Linked DNA regions of Homo sapiens: region 2 is linked to region 1. Evidence: promoter capture Hi-C in 16 types of primary human blood cells and fetal thymus (Javierre and others, 2016). All regions are on one chromosome and are shown on one strand. Each heading gives the region's core, a stretch centred on a gene start or on the middle of the fragment in contact. The rest is flanking DNA. Distances are from core to core; before and after follow the strand shown.

Region 1 (5,506 bases), core at 2,394-4,893:
TTACATTTTATTTCTGTCTTGAGTGTCTCTCCTGTATTTAAGACTAATAGGTACACATGCTTGGAATTATATGTCTACTATGAAGCGTGTTATTGCTCTTGTTTATTGTTTGTCTCTTCCTACTACAATGTAATCTCCATAAAGATGAGGAGTTTGATACTTTTTTCACTGACAAATCTCCTATGCTTAACACATAGCTGATATGAAGTGACTGAATGAAAGTGAAAGAAGAAAAAATTGTGAAGCAATGAGAAAGCGTGTGTTGCATCTTGTGGCCCTGTTTAATATAAGAAAAGAGAGGGCTGATAATATGTGTCAATGCACACAGGGAGTGAGCTGAAATATTTGCAGGATCTTAGCAGAGGTATGATTTCAAATACTCAGTGCTAGAATGGGGAACCTGTACCACTTCTCTAATTGCAACAATGATGAACTTAACTATTTATCCTTTATTCACATAAATCTAATTTACATTAATCAAATTCACCTTAATTCATTTTTACGGGATCTGAAAATATATAGAAACCAATTCCAGAACTTCTGCTTCCAACAATGGTAGAAAACATGTTTTGGACTAAGAATAAACAATAAAGTGGTATAAAATATTTTTTTAAATTCATTAAGGGCAACAGAGAGAATTTCTATTTCCAGAAAGGATATAGTCAGTGTGGCAGGCCAACACTTGGACTAACAACGAGAAAAACCTAGGTAAATTATATATTTATAAAGGAATCAGAGGGTTTTAAAAACAAGAACTAAATGGATTAAAATTCCAGAGAAGTGAGAACTTTCCAGTAATGACTTGATGATGTCCACAATTTTTTCCTCTTGGCAAAATTGCCAGGTTGGAGTGCAGGCTAAGGATGAGGCTGAGTCCAGGCAGAAAGATGCAGCTGCGGAAAAAAGTTAAACTAACAAAACTTTTAGCAGTTATATGGGGCTTTGGTGACTCACTGAAGGTGTGAGAAACCCTAAATACATGATTAAGACATTAACTGAATTCTGAGACTGTATGGAGGCTAAAACAGTAGTCCCCAAACTTCTGAAATGCAAAGTGAAGTCCCCCACAGTGTCATGGTGCTAGAGAATCAACGAACTGCTATGGAAAAGAGGAGCCCCAAAACAAAAGAAGTAAAATATAAAAACATAAGAGGGAGTAGGGAATTGACATTGGTAATTTACAGGTGGTTTTTTGATGGGAATATTTACAGATTCTGAGCAAAGCTACAGGCTGTCCCTCAAAGAAAACAACAAAAGAGATCTCTATTCTTCACAGAAGACTATAGAGTGTCCCAAACACATTGCCAGTCTTCCTTTCAAGCGAGTTGCTGAATTTTGAAGCTTTATGGAGCAGGAGGTTAAAGAGCTAAACTGAAAACTTGCTGTTATCTTTTAGGGCTGGAAGACAGAGATCCACCAGGCTCTCAATTGAAAGCCCTGGAGGGCTACACCCTAAGAACAGAAGTGAATCGGAGGTACACTTAGCAAAACTGAAACCAGCTTCTGATTCAGAATAATCTCTGACTCGATTGAGGTGATCAAAGGCTATTCTACCTGCCCAACAGAAGAAAAAGGGAACACTTTCGGTGGAAGGCAATATCATCTGGACCCTTTATGGTTTTATTATACATAATGTCTAACATTTTTTAAATTACTAGATGTGGAAGATCAAGTTCATTTGCCCAATAATCAAGAGAAAAAAACACACACAATAGAAACACAATTATAGATGATCAAGATATTGTAATCAGCAAATGAGAATTTACAAATAATTTTTATGAATATGTTTAAGAAAATAAAGTGCAAAATTGATGAGGAAATGGACAATTTTCAGTAAAACTAACCTATAAAAAAGATTTCTTTAGGCATTCTAAATTTGAAAAAATATACTATCGTCAGTTAAGAAATCAATATATGGAGAAAACTGCAGTGGAAAGGATCAGTAGAGATAGCAGTGTGTCCAACAGCCAAGAAAGTAGGGTGGCGGGCATACAGATAGTGATGTGCATAGGGGCAAAAGAAGTCATAATGGGAAAGCCATGTGGAGGCAGCAGAGTGCCTGGTGTCCAAGGAAGCATGTATAGGGGGTACATATGGTGGCAGTTGTATGCTCAGCAGAAGAAGCACCAGGGAGGTGAAGGTAAGAGTAAGTTGGGGTGCACAGTTAACAATGTGTCTAACAGCCAGAAGGTGGAGACAGGGGCATGGAGGCAGTGGCATATCAAACAGACCAGGGTTTGGTGGGGAGAAGAGTTCAAAAGTGACAACTTGCCTGGAGATGAAATCAGGAGTGATGAGTTGGCCATGGCAGTACCTAGCATTTTTAGGAAATTAATTATGTAAAGGAGGATTGATCAAGAAAGTATCTATATTGAAGCTAATGGAAGCTGGATTTCTCTCTGTGGGAAAACAAATTTACAAATATGAAAAGGGGAAGCGAAAAAAATAACTCATTGCTATTGTTATGGTAAGAAGGAAGAAGGAAGGAAGGAAAGAGCAAAAGGAAGGAAAGAAGGAAAGAGTGAAAGGGAAGGGAGGAAAGAAACAAAAAAAATTATCAATGCAAGTGAATATGTCTGTGTACATATCCATGAATACATACATATATTTCAAAATTCTGACCATGGAGAGGACCTAGGTGCAATGACACCCCAGTAGCAATTAATAACAAGTATGTAGGTTCCAATTTCCATAACAAACAACAAGGACTCCTTGTAAAAGTGGATGATTCAAGGATGGAGGTAGAGAAATTTCAAGATAAGCCTGGAACGTTGGATAATAATGAACTGTGGTTTGAATGCTGGTATTTATCGCTGTCCATTTTCTGATTTGAAAGGCTTGGCAATTACTCTGTAGGAGAGTGTCTTTGGGAGAAGTAGTAATAGGAATATTTACAGATGATAGGACATAAAGGTTTCAACTTGCTTAACTTGCTCTCAAAATATTCAAAAAAGGTATCATATCCTTGAAAATACACATCTATCTATCTATCTATCTATCTATCTATCTATCTATCTATCTATCATCTTTACAAAAAGAGATGGAGAAAATATGAAACTATTAACTGAGGAATCTGGATGAAGAGAATGTGGGAGTTCATTCTACTGTTCTTGCAACTTTTCTGATAAAAATATTTCAAAGTAAATTATTTCAAAATTAAATTTAAAAACTCAATATATGAGTTTAACAATAGGTTGGACACTATTGAATACAAGACTTGTGAACTGGAAACATATCAATGAAAAATATACAAAGTGAAGCATGGAAGAAAAAAAGAAAGAGAAAAAATAAGAAACAAATGTAAGAGACATACAGGACAAGTATGAAAGGTCTACCATGTAAAACTGAAGTTTCAGAGGGCAAGGAGAAAGAAATAGAGCAGAAGCAATATTCAAAGGGATAATGGTTGGGAATTTTCTAAAGCAGATAAAATACATTTAACCCACTGGTTAAGAAGCTCAGCAAACCCTCAAGCAGGATAAGTATAGAGAAAACCACAATTATGCAACTCACAATAAAACTGCTGAACCAAAGACAGAGAAGATGGAAAAACCAGCCAGAAGAAAAAAGACACATTATCTACAAAAGAGCAACAATGAGACTGGCAGCTGTCTCTAATAGCAACAATAGAAGCCAGAAGATAATGGAATGCTATCTCTAGAGTACTGAAAGAAACTAAAGGCCAACGTGTGAAAAACAATCTTCAGAAATGAACGTTAAATGATGACATTTTCAAACAAACAAGCAACAAAAAGAAGCAAAAAGTAAACAAAAAACAAAAATTCACATAATTTATTGCTAGGAGTTTTACACTGAAATGCTGAAGGGATTTCTACTAGCAAAAGTAAAAATGATCTCATTTGAAAAGATGGAAATTCAAGGAGGGAATGAAGAATACTGGATGGGTAAATGTGTTGGTAACTGTAAATGAATACTGACTACACAAAATTATGTTGAATAACTGAAAGATGAAAACACAATCACTTGAAGGAGAAATGTATGGTCAAACTGCATGCAGGAAAAACTTCTATAAAAGAGTTACTTCATGCTCTGGGTTGGCAGATACAATGAGCAGGAGTGCATCAGAAGTAATCAAGAAGGTGATTAGTTGGTGTACTTCAGCAGGAGCAACCAGATGAATTGGCTTCTCTATATCCCCGTATTAGCCACAAGCTAGGCAGCAGCCTGCAGGTGGGAGCAATGCCTATGCATGTATGGATCAGTGTGCTACATACAGTAAGTACAGGATGGTACCAGTTCCTGGTGAGAGGACACAGATGAATAGAAAAGAGACTGAAATGATATACAATAAGCCAGTAACTAATGTTGCCACTAGAGATGGGGTTAGAGGAAATAGTTTTGTCTACATTATATAAATCTTTCACAATAAAAATGTATTCATGTGCTACTTGTATAATTAGAAATATATTTGAAAATGAATAATTTTGTATAGGAAATATATGTTTGACTCCATGCAATAAATACTGACATCAGCATCAAAATAAAGCATTTCTAAAAATCACCTGGAAATAAAAATAGTCTTCTAGATAACTCTTGTATCAAAGAGGAAAAAAGAATCCTGATAACATAATATAATCTTGTGAATTGTAACCAAATCTTACCTTATGAAAAATTTTGTTTAAAATAACATAAATGTATAACTCAGGAAATTAAAAAGAAGAAAATAAATCAAAAGAAAGTAAAAGAATGTAAAAGCAATGACTTAAACATGAGAAAGCCAAACATTACAATTTATTGATAAAAACAGTGATCTTGTATTTGAAAAGTTATAAAAACAAAACAAACCAATCAATCCCTAGCAAGTCTAGCCAAAGGAAACCTAAGAGAACACAAATACAATATTAGAAAACAGAAAAGGTATAACCAAAGGAAATTATAATTTTTAAATAAAATTTTTGTACTTTTCTGAGTATAAAATTTTAAAATAGATATTTTTAAGGAAACTACAAACAACCAATTTGCCTGAATAAAATATAGGAAGCCAAAATAGATCAATATCCATAGAAAAGTTGAAACTTTTGTAAAAAAAATACTGTAAAATGGCTCTGGGCCATGTTCATTTTCTCAGAAATTTTTACCAAATACTGACGAATAGTTAAGTTCTGTAGTACTTAATTGTTACAAAGCTATAGAAATCATAACTTTGATACAATAAACCTGATAAATATGTCACAAAACCATGGGCCAATCTATCTAATAAGCACAAATAAAAAGTCTGTTATGAAATATCAAATCCAACAGTATACTAAAAGAGCAATACACTTTACCTGATCAAATTTATTCAAGAGTACAAAAATTGTTCAAATTTAGGAAATATGCTAATGTAATCTTGGTAGATGCTAAAGGACATTTTATAAATGTTAACGTTACTTTTGATTAAAATTCCTGGTGTGCCAAGGGAAAAGCAGACTTTCTTAACTTGGTAACAAGTATTTTTTAGAAATCCAAAGCCAATATAATACTTAATAATGAAATACCAAAAATA
Region 2 (6,245 bases), core at 1,765-4,264, 250 kb after region 1:
TTGCCTTATTTAATAGTCCCCATTATTGAGATCTGTGTGTTTGTTTGTGTACATATTGTTAATTATCAGTATGAGACAATGGGAAAGAAAAGTAGAAATAGTACTTGAAGCTAGAAGTGATGTTAGTGACCAAAACACATGCCTAGAATGTCTAGATCCTTCCTATAAGATGGCCACAGATTTAGATCTTAGCTTTCTATCAGTCAGCCCAAAGAGGGAATAGAATAGGCTTAAAATGTAGTGTCTATAAAGCTAATTTTAAATAAAAATAAAATTCTTCCTGATTTTGAGTCCAGATAAATTTCTCCCATATCACTTCATTTTAAGTAGACAGTTAGAAATTATAAACCATGAGGGCTAGTCACAGTGGCTCACACCTGTAATCCCAACACTTTGGGAGACCAAGGCAGGCAGATCGCTTAAGCCCGGGAGTTTGAGACCAGCTTGGGCAACATGGCAAAACCCTGTCGCTACAAAAAATGCAAAAATTTGCCAGATATGGTGGTGGGCACCTATAGTCCCAGCTACTTGAAAGGCTGAGGCAGAAGGCAGAGGGAGGCACTTTAGCCTGGGTGTGACAGAGCTGGACCCTGTCTGAAAGAAAGAAGGAAAGAAAGACAGACAGAGAGAGAGAGAGAGAGAGAGAGAAAGAAAGAAAGAAAAAAGAAAGAAAGAAAGAAAGAAAGAAAGAAAGAAAGAGAAGGAAGGATGGGAGGTGGGAGGGGGGAGGTAGAAAGAAAGAAATTAATAAATTATAAAACATGGAGTTCCTTTTTAATTGCTAAATATACTAGAATTGACACCTTACTCTGCCCATAGTATCAAGCAATACATATTTTGGTAATCATGGTATCGGAAAAGAAATGTGGCATAGAATATCGTCATCAATTTCCTTTGTTAAATTATTGGTTAATTCACTGAAAAGAATCACCTCAGTCACTAATGATGCTAAAAAGTAAATATTCAAGTCATCAGTAAATATTCCCTAAATTTCTATACAATGAAGCACAGCATGAGTATCACAATTTTCTACTCTAGGTAGTTATGTAGAATTATGAGAGATATATACAGTTTTTAAAAAATATAACAGTCTTAAATCTACTGTTCATACATAATAGCTTATAGTTAATCATCTTAAGAGTTTTATTTTAGAATAAAAGATAAACTTTTGGATATATTATTAAATTATTTGGATATGGTTATTGACTCAGAAAAAAGTTTGGAAAATACTCTTTTTAAATGGCCTAATAAGAAGTAGTGTTTTTCCTAAGACTGCTGCAAGTACTAATACTTAAGGCAAATTGACTGTTCCCCACTCATCAAGCCCCTCTAGCACAGCTAGTTCCCTGCTCCCATCAGCAGACCTCACCTTCTACTTTTCTGAGATATTAAGAAGGGACTCCTCAGTTTCTTTTCTATCTGAAAAGTTATCTTGCTTCATTATATCTTCCTTCCCTCCATTCTAAAACAGAAAAATTTTCATGCTTTCTTCTGACAGATTCCTTATTTATGCTTTTGAGTTCCTTTTTGGTTCCCACTTTCTTTTATTCATTCTTTAATGAAATATTCATTTATTTATTTATTAGTTTTATTTTATTTTATTTTAAATTCTGGGATACATGTGCAGAATGTTCAGGTTTGTTACATAGGTATGCATGTGCCATGGTTGTTTGCTGCGCCTATCAACCTGCCATCTAGGTTTTAAGCCCCGCATGCTTAGGTATTTGTCCTAATGCTCTCCCTCCCCTTGTCCTCCACCACCCGACAGGCCCCGGTGTGTGATGTTCCCCTTCCTGTGTCCGTGTGTTCTCATTGTTCAGCTCCCACTTATGAGTGAGAACATGCCGTGTTTTTCTGTTCCCCTGTTAGTTTGCTGAGAATGATGGCTTCCAGCTTCATCCATGTCCTTGCAAAGGACATGAACTCATTCTTTTTTATGGCTGCATAGTATCCCACTTTTTAAAGAGTTTATTCCATTATCTTATTACTTGTATCTTTTCCTCCTTTGCTCCAAGTCTCCTTGCCTTAAAACAAACTTCTTCTTAATCTTTATTCTTTTTCAGGCTATACATTTGCAGAGTTTGCCCGAAAGGGATGGAAAGAAATGGGATATAATAGCTTTCTAAAGTGTCTCTGTGACTGTGGCAGTTGTCTTCTCAGAACCACTGATGTCTCTCTGTGTCTGCCAACTAAAGTTCTTTACCTTCTGCCACCACCATCACCTCAGTGTGCCTAATGTTCTAGGCAGACAGACTGTTTCTCCAATACCCCTTCTCTTGTCTATGTCACGATAATAACCTCACATTAAATGCATCTCTGCCTGCAAATCTGAGCCTTCTTTCAAAATCTAAGATAGAGTTCCTTAAATGCAGCATTTCTAAGCAATCTCCTGTCTTCATATACTCACAACACCATTTCATGCCTCTATTGCTTTTATAGCTCGTTGTTCATATGTTTTCCTTACTCATTAGACAGTAAGCTCTTTGAAAGCAGAATGTTCTCTCATTTGTCTTGATCCTACACATGCACACTATTTTTAATTCTTACTTGGTGTCATTGAAATTGATTTAAATTTATATGTATTTGGGGATTTTTTGGTAAATGAGGCAGTAATATCTGGATTCAAACTCAAAGAAATATGAAGTTTGCATTTTAGTAATGTTTTATTTCATCACATTAGTATATATGAGCTTTGGAAAAAATGTAATTTGACTGAATGAATGAGCCTGCAGATGGAATTCTGGAATTGCCTGACAGAATTTGCCCAATAGGATCTTATAAATGCCTGCTTGAAACTTGAATTTTTTTAGCCTTAAACTTTGTAGGCAATGATATATTCTGAGATGAGACCAAAAGTATGAATGCCATTCACAGTTTGTCAAAATGTCAAGGAGGTACCTGAATAACCATGTAGCACAGGTTAATAATAAATCTTTATCTAGTTAATTCATTTGTGCAAATCATGGCTTCCACTTGAGCCCCTTCCCTCTGTCTAGTCTTTCCTGGTTGTTCAAGCCATTTTTGATCATATGGTTCCTAATCTCTGAGAACAACTGATGTTCAGGTTATTTGCTGTGTGCTAACCTCATGTCAATTTCTGAAGTCTTGAGAGATAGTATCCACTTACCCTATGTACCTTATAGAACCTGGGACAGTGTGAGTCCAGATTTGTTCTTTGGTTTCCTGAGGTTGTATATCTCTACACAGGCACACAGACCAATTTCCCCACTCTCTAGGAAAATTGTCAAGAGAGGAAATAGAATTGATTCTTTCAGCAGCTCAGTTATTAGAAGTAGATAGGGTCTGTCTGATTAGGTTATATGATATGTCATAGGCTTTGCCTTGATTTCTTTTTGAGAGATTTTTATTGTGTGTAGACCTACGAGAGACTGAAGACAATTTTATTTTTCATCACATCTGAGAATTGTTTGTAGCATGAAATGTGGGATGCAATTCATATTTTCAGCTGTGCTTTCATTGCTTTGGGTATTATTTCCACTGATGCAGGAGGATCTTCCCTCAAAGATGGATTTTCTTCAGGCAAGGTCAGCCTGTTATATGAATACTTATGAATATAATGCATATTTTATGATTTGATTTCTCTGTTCTCTTTGTTTACTTAATTCAAAGTTAACTGCGGCCTTTCTTTATGCTAGTCTTGGCATACCCAGGAGTAAAAAGAAAATTGGAGAATCATGACCTTATTTATGTATATCTGCAGCAACCGAATAGTAAACATAAGCATTGTAAAAGATAAAACTTGAGAAAACAGTACATTGGAGTTATGACTTTGTTGTGTCATATATACTTCTCACTAGAGTATGGTAGTCAAATACACCTTTTTTGCTTTTATCCCTGTCTCTCCAAATATTTAGTTAAAGAGTAAATGTTTAAGCTGGCTTGGCTAGAAGTAGTTATTTACCTACCATATTAAGGGATAAGATAGAGGAAATGGAAGGGAAGGAAAAAAATAAAAATGGGAAAATGTATCACAAAAGAGAGAGCAAAAAAAGATTTTTAATTATACAAAACATCTACTTGGCTCTGCCCTTTTGCAAAACCAATGCAGCAGAAGAAGTAGTGCCTGTGGAGTTGGTGTTACCATGTCTTCACAGGTCTCCTAGGTGAAATTTTGGTATTATGAACAAGGGGCTTGCCTCCATTGACTTTCAATGAAAGAGCTATCTTTGCTTTTAGGAAGATGGTCTCATAACTCTACTTAAAATATTTACTGAAAAATTTTCGTTATAAGAGCATAAAAATCTTAGAAAATAGCTTATACTGAAAATTGGTTGTAAATTAAGTAATTATTTTTGCTTTGGATACTAAATAATGCACTGCTTATGGAAATTGATTATCTTCTAATTTTTCTGTCATTTACTCATTTTGGAAAAATTAAAATTTTTGTTGCATTTATTTTTATTTAGTATAAAAATTGATAAACATTTCAGTGGAGCATTGATCCTTAACTACTGTTATTTTCTGTTTCTTTGATTATGGATTATAAATATCTTTGCTCATTTGAATTTCAAAATTATTAATTCTTCATTTTTTACTTCTTTACTCATTCAATCAATTTCTGAAATAGGGTTAGATAAATAAACTTTGAATAAGAGGAAGTAGTGTGGATAATGGAAAATAATTGACTTGACAGTTTAAAGACCTAAGCTGTAGACCAGAACTATCATAATGAGCTGTGGGTCCCTAAGCAAGTCTTTTGACTTCTCTGGTTCTCACCTTTTTCATTTGTTAGTTGCCTGATAGATTAAATTCAATGGTTTCTAAATTATTCCATAGCCCTAAACACTGCCTATATGATTTAGAATAAGCTAAACATTTAAATAGTAATAGAAGTTTGTAGTCATATATTTGCTCCTAAAATCAAGTTAGTCAGATATATGACTTACGTGATGTCAAATTGGGTCAAGAAAACAAACCTAGGTTATAGCTCTTATCTTAGAAAACATGACGTGTGTTTTAAGGACACATGTTGGGAGAAGTTTGCATGGCCAATACCAGATGAGCACAGCCAAGATGCAGAATGACTGGAGAACACTATATGATCCTGAACCATCAAAGGAAGATTAAATTATGGTTAGTAGACTGTAATTAACTCAAGGCAAAAGCTAGTGTACTTTTGAAAATAAATTACCACCAGATGTTTAACAAAAAATGATTTTCTCTGTGGTCTTTACCTAACCATAAGATTGTATTAACTAGAACACCTTATTCCCCAAGCATCCTCATGAACCAACATTCCATCACACAAAATAAAGTATATATAATCATAGAGAAACCGGAATGGTAGAGTCTTGTATTTTTATTTCATCTGACAAATGTATTTGTCTCTAAATCTAACATTGATAACTGTGCATTTCTGTATATTAGCATATATAGTTTTATTTAAATATTAAGTTCAGTGTCGTTACATCTAGAAAGCCTTTTCTAACTTTCCAGAAAGGAGTGACCATTCCCTCTTGTAATCTCCTTTGTAATCTGTTTATATTTATGTCATTTGTTGAACTAATTCACAAATATCTCCCCGCTGAAGCTCTGAGCTCTTCGTTTGTTTGTTTGTTTTGTTTGTTTGTTTGTTGTTGTTGTTTTTCGAGATGGAGTCTTGCTCTGTTACCCAGACTGGAGTGCAGTGGTGTGATCTTGGCTCACTGCAACCTCTGCTTCCCGGGTTCAAGAGATTTTCCTGCCTCAGCCTCCTGAGTAGTTGGGATTACAGGTTCCAGCCACCACACCCGGCTAATTTTTGTATTTTTAGTAGAAACAGGGTTTCACCATGTTGGCTAGGCTGGTCTTGAAGTCGTGACCTCAAGTGAGCTGCCCGCCTGGGCCTCCCAAAGTGCTGGGATTACAGGTGTGAGCCACCATACCCAGCCAGCTCTGTGCTCTTAAATGCAATGCTTGTCTTTTCTTTTTCTGTATTGTGTAAATACAGCCCATTTCTGGCATATCGTAGGCATTCAGTAAATGTCTTTTTTTTGAGGGGGGGATTTTTTTTTATTATACTTTAAGTTTTAGGGTACATGTGCACAATGTGCAGGTTTGTTACATATGTATACATGTGCCATATTGGTGTGCTGCACCCATTAACTCGTCATTTAACATTAGGTATAAGTAAATGTCTTAAAGTATCATAGAATAATCAGAAATCCTATTTAAAGAGGCCTAAGTTACAATCTCTAATGCACATGTATCTGCTTTTTTTGTTTGTTTTCACTAGTTTTAATTTA

The links. Contacts are between HindIII fragments. The CHiCAGO score rates a contact against its expected background, and 5 or more counts as called.
Region 2: a fragment that was not itself captured here is called in contact with the fragment with the promoter of LINC01277 in region 1 in 3 of 17 cell types (total B cells, naive B cells and neutrophils); the score reaches 5.6 in total B cells.

Annotation. Positions count from the first base shown.
Region 1 is chr6:143,035,719-143,041,224 of GRCh38, reverse strand. It overlaps LINC01277 (long intergenic non-protein coding RNA 1277), which reads left to right and starts at 3,643. Exons shown (of 3, transcript NR_038987.1): 1 at 3,643-4,236. RefSeq lists an enhancer at 1,316-1,385. The HindIII fragment of the contact is 5,129 bases long and covers 1,344-5,506 here.
Region 2 is chr6:142,788,077-142,794,321 of GRCh38, reverse strand. All of the region lies in intron 2 of HIVEP2 (HIVEP zinc finger 2), which reads left to right. Among named protein-coding and RNA genes, the nearest start is that of HIVEP2, 150 kb to the left of the region's middle. The HindIII fragment of the contact is 7,164 bases long and covers 1-6,245 here.